2 separate regions of the Homo sapiens genome follow, and region 2 is linked to region 1. The links are contacts of gene promoters, found by promoter capture Hi-C in blood cells and fetal thymus (Javierre and others, 2016). All regions are on one chromosome and are shown on one strand. The core of a region is centred on a gene start or on the middle of the fragment in contact, and the rest is flanking DNA. Distances in the headings are between cores, read along the strand shown.

What was found. Contacts are between HindIII fragments. The CHiCAGO score rates a contact against its expected background, and 5 or more counts as called.
Region 2: a contact is called between a fragment that was not itself captured here and the fragment with the promoter of OR4C5 in region 1, in 1 of 17 cell types (fetal thymus). The highest score is 5.0, in fetal thymus.

Annotation. Positions count from the first base shown.
Region 1 is chr11:48,365,083-48,367,782 of GRCh38, reverse strand. OR4C5 (olfactory receptor family 4 subfamily C member 5) reads left to right here and starts at 1,318. Exons shown (of 1, transcript NM_001348223.2): 1 at 1,318-2,298. The coding sequence starts at 1,318. The coding sequence ends at 2,298. The HindIII fragment of the contact is 2,303 bases long and covers 304-2,606 here.
Region 2 is chr11:48,666,489-48,669,188 of GRCh38, reverse strand. No RefSeq gene overlaps it. Among named protein-coding and RNA genes, the nearest start is that of OR4A47, 180 kb to the right of the region's middle. The HindIII fragment of the contact is 635 bases long and covers 935-1,569 here.

The DNA of each region.
Region 1 (2,700 bases), core at 69-2,568:
AGCTCATTTCTATTCTTCAGTTTTCTTTGTATTTTTAAAATATCAAAAAGCTTTTTAATTTAGTTATCAAGTCTAATTTTTTATTGCCTGATGTCTTTCTGTGTTACACCTTTTTTTCTGAATATAATTGCTTGTTATTTACCTTGAGTTGAGTACTGAGTTCATTTATTTTCTCTCTTAATATTACAATGATAAATAACTTAAAGATAAAAATAATTATATGCAAAATTTTGTTTACTTGTGTTCTTTATCAAGATGTGGAGTACATGGTAAGCTATAGGTTTACCTTTAGGATACAAAGCTTGATATATTTAATCATGATATTCTTTAGTTCCTCCATTCCATTTGTTATTTTTCCCATTTTATATATGAAAAAGTTTAGGCACAATGAGACTAAGATCTGTACACAATATCATGTGGCTAATAGTCAGTGAAGATAAAATGTAAAAATTAGGCATCTGATTCTAAAAAACACTCTGTCCAATAAATTATGGTGCTTTTTTTCCCTCACCTTAAAATTATGTTTTCTAAACAGATCCATATAATTTTTCATAGTCATCCTTAAATTGGGTTTTGATTTGCAAAATGCCCTGAATTCTAAACATGACAGTTCTCCAAGTGAATTCTAAAGTTTCAGATACATCTGGGGAATGCTGCCTTGCATCATGCTGTTTTATCCTCTTCCAGGATATGCTTCCAGAAGTGTTTGATTGTATTCTTAGACAATTCTGTTTGGATGTGGCATAAATTCTCAAATCTAACTGCCATGGAGTATCTTACTGCAGCCTCAAACATTCACTCAGTTCAGTTGATTCTGAAATGTGGTGGCATCATCCTTAATTTCAAAGTGAACTCACCTGATGTTTTATAGTTACCCTGAAACAAGTTAAAAATAACCAGAATAACAAACTCTGCACCGTAGCCTCATGAACATGAGTGGTTAAAAAAAAAAAAAAAACGAAAAAAAAAAGAAACTAGGAAATTGACAGGAATTCAAGCCTCTGCTCCTCCTCTTTTTACTGCTGTTTTTCTATGGGGAAAAAAATGCTGTAAGGGTGATTGAGAGAATATCCATCCATGTACAATCATAGGAAAAATGCCTGACATGTCAACATCATAAAATCATGTTTGTGTACATAAATGAATGTGTGTATGTGTTTTTCTGTGTCTGTGTGTGTCTCTGTATGAGAGAGAAGAGGTATCTGTGTTCATTATGTCATGAATAACATAGCTCAACTTAGTCTTGGGTTTATAGATTTAGGGATTCCATCAGTGTTACAGAAAATAATCCTGACCAAAATTATTTTATTGTTCAAAATGTATGTGTCAAATTGCAATCCTTGTGCTATTCACAGAAAAATCAATTATCCAAATACCAAACTGGATTTCGAGCAAGTGAACAACATAACGGAATTCATCTTGCTTGGCCTGACACAGAACGCAGAGGCACAGAAACTCTTGTTTGCTGTGTTTACACTCATCTACTTTCTCACCATGGTAGACAACCTAATCATTGTGGTGACAATCACCACCAGCCCAGCCCTGGACTCCCCCGTGTATTTTTTTCTGTCTTTCTTTTCCTTCATAGATGGCTGCTCCTCTTCTACCATGGCCCCCAAAATGATATTTGACTTACTCACTGAAAAGAAAACTATTTCCTTCAGTGGGTGCATGACCCAGCTCTTTGTAGAACATTTCTTTGGGGGAGTTGAGATCATTCTGCTCGTGGTGATGGCCTATGACTGCTATGTGGCCATCTGCAAGCCCCTGTACTACCTGATCACAATGAACAGGCAGGTATGTGGCCTCCTGGTGGCCATGGCATGGGTCGGGGGATTTCTTCACGCTCTGATTCAAATGCTTTTAATAGTCTGGCTGCCCTTCTGTGGCCCCAATGTCATTGACCATTTCATCTGTGACCTTTTCCCTCTGCTAAAACTCTCCTGCACTGACACTCACGTCTTTGGACTCTTTGTTGCCGCCAACAGTGGGCTGATGTGTATGCTCATTTTTTCTATTCTTATTACCTCTTACGTCCTAATCCTCTGCTCACAGCGGAAGGCTCTCTCTACCTGCGCCTTCCATATCACTGTAGTCGTCCTATTCTTTGTTCCCTGTATATTGGTGTACCTTCGACCCATGATCACCTTCCCTATTGATAAAGCTGTGTCTGTGTTTTATACTGTGGTAACACCCATGTTAAACCCTTTAATCTACACCCTCAGAAACACAGAGGTGAAAAATGCCATGAAGCAGCTCTGGAGCCAAATAATCTGGGGTAACAATTTGTGTGATTAGAGAAGATAAACACAGAACCTACTCATATTTTAACAACAGGTATGACTAATGAAAAGGGTAAAGGTCTTGAGGTCAGAATAGTGAGTTTAAGTATATTTTATTCCCCTCATTTTCTGGAATCTTTAATGATGCCTTTTCATAAAAGATCAATATCTGATTAAATGATGACTAATGTTTCTGCCAATTTGAAACTTCTTCACATTTACAAATTATTAATCAGGGGGACATTGCTAGTCAACATAAAAATGTTACAGTGTATGGAAAACCCATGAGTTTATGTGTTTAGTAGAATAATTATCTGCAAAGCTTCGGTATAGAGTATATAACTAACAGGCCAAATAATTAAAATAAACAAAAAGACCTAATGGCTAAATCTTTTGTTGAAAATGCATAGTTTTAATC
Region 2 (2,700 bases), core at 3-2,502, 300 kb before region 1:
TCCAAGCTGCTGAATGAAAAGAAAGATTTAACTCTGTGAGATGAATGCCCACATCACGAGGCTATTTCTCAAAAACTTCATTCTAGTTTTTATCCTGGGATATTCACTTTTTTGCCATTGGCCTCAATGAGCTCCCAAATATCCATTTGCAGAATGGGCAAAAACAGTGTTTGCACACTGCTGAATCCACAGAAACGATTAACTCGGTGAGATGAATGCTCAGATCACTAAGCACTTTCTCAGAAAGTTTCTTTCTAGTTTTTATCTGAAAACATTTCCTTTTTAACCATAGTCCTCAATACGTTCATAAATATAACTTTGCAGATTCTACAAAAAACAGTGTTTCCAAACTGCTAAATGAAAACAATGGTTTGTCTCTGCGAGTTGAATGCACACAGCACAAAGCAGTTTCTCAGATAGCTTCTTTCTAGTTTTTGTCCAGGGAATTTCACTATTTTGCCCTTGGCCTCAATGAGCTCCCAAATGTCCATTCACAGAATGGACAAAAACAGAATTTGCAAACTGCAGAATCCACAGAAATTTTAACTCTGTGAGATGAATGCACACATGACAAAGCAGTTTCTCAGAAAGCTTCTTTCTAGTTTTTGTCTGGTATTTCCTTTTTCACCCCAGGCCTCAGTGAGCTCCCAAATTTCCCTGTGCAGATTCTATGAAAACAGTGCTTCCAAACTGCTGAATGAAAAGAAAGGTTTAGCCGTTCAAGATGAATGCACACATCGCAATGCAGTTTCTCACAGGGCTTCCTTCTAGTTTTTATCCTGGGATAGTCCCTTGTTTGCCATTGGCCTCAATGAGCTCCCAAATATCCATTTGCAGAATGGACAAAAACATTGATTGTAAACTGCTGAATTCACAGAAAGAATTAACTCTGTGAAAGGAATGCACACATCACAAAGCAGGTTCTCTGAAAGCTTGTTTCTAGTTTTTATCCAAAGATATTATCTTTTTCACCATAGGCCTCAATGCACTCCCAGATATCCCTTTGTGGATACTTCCAAAACAGTGTTTGCAGACGACTGAATGAACCGAAAGGTTTATTGCTGTGAGGCAAATGCACACATCCAAAGCAGTTTCTCAGATAGCTTCCTTCCAGTTTTTATCCTGGGATATTCACTTTTTTGCCATGGGCTTCAATGAGGTCCCAAATGTCCATTTGCAGAATGGACAAAAACAGTGTTTGCAATCTGCTGAATCCACAGAAATTTTAACTCCATAAGATGAATGCGCACATCAGAAAGCAGTTTCTCAGTTAGCTTCTTTCTTGTTTTTATCTGAAGATATTTCCTTTTTCACCATAGGCCTCAATGCACTCCCAGATATCCCTTCGCAGACCCTACAAAAACAGTGTTTCCAAACTGCATAATGAAAAGAAAGTTTTGACTCTGAAATGTGAATTCACACATCACAAAGTTGTTTCTCAGATAGCTTCCTACTATATTTTTTTCTGGGTTATTCTCTTTTTTGCCATTTGCCTCATTAAGCTCCCAAATACCACTTTGCAGATTCTACAACAACTGTGTTTACAAACTGCTGAATCCAAAGAAAGCTTTGACTCTGTGAGATGAATGCACACAGCACAAAGCAGTTTATCAGAAAGTTTATTTCTAGTTTTTATCTGAAGATATTTCCTTTTTCACCATATGCCTCATTTAGCTCCCAAATATCCCTTCACAGATTCTGACAAAACAGTGTTTCCAGACTGCTGAATGAAAAGAAAGGCTTAACTCTGTGAGATGAATGCACACATCATGAAGCGGTTTCTCAGATAGCTTCCTTCTAGTTTTTTTCCTGGGATATTGGCTTTTTCACCATTGGCTTCAATGAGCTCCCAAATGTCCATTCACAGAAGGGGCAAAAACAGTGTTTTCAATCTGCTAAATCCACAGAAAGGATTACCTCTGTGAGATGAAGGTACACATCACAAAGCAGTTTCTCGTAAAATGCACTCCCAAGTATAAACTCAAAGATTCTACAAACACAGTGTTTCCAAACTGTGGAGTGAAGTCATAGAGATGAATTCACACATCACAAAACGGGTTTCTCAGGTAGCTTCCTTTTAGTTTTTTTCCTGGGATATTCATTTTTTTGCCATTGGCATCAATGAGCTCCCAAATGTCCATTTGCAGAATGGGGAAACAGTGTTTGCAAACTTCTGAGTCTACAGAAAGGCTTAACTCTGTGCGATGAATGGACAGATGACTAAGCACTTTCTCAGAAAGCTTATTTCTAGTTTTTATCTGAAGATATTTCCATTTTAACCATAGTCCTCAATACCCTCCCAAATATCACTTCACAAATCCTTCCAAAATAGTGATTCCAGACTGCTGAATGAAAAGAAATGTTTATTGCTGTGAGGTGAATGCACATATCACAAAGCAGTTTCTCAGATATTTTTCTTCCAGTTTTTATCCTGGGATACTTGGTTTTTTGCCATTGCCTTCAATGAGCTCCCAAACGTCCATTTGCAGAATGGACAAAAACAGTGTTTGCAAGCTGCTGAATCTGCAGAAAGTTTAACTCCATGAGATGAATGCACACATGAAAAAGCAGTTTCTCATTTGCTGAATGGACATTTGCTGAAAAGCATTTGCTGAATGGACAACAGTGTTTTCAAAATGTTGTTTAAAACGAAAGGTTTAAATCTGTGAGATGAATGCACACATCTCAAAGCAGTTTTTC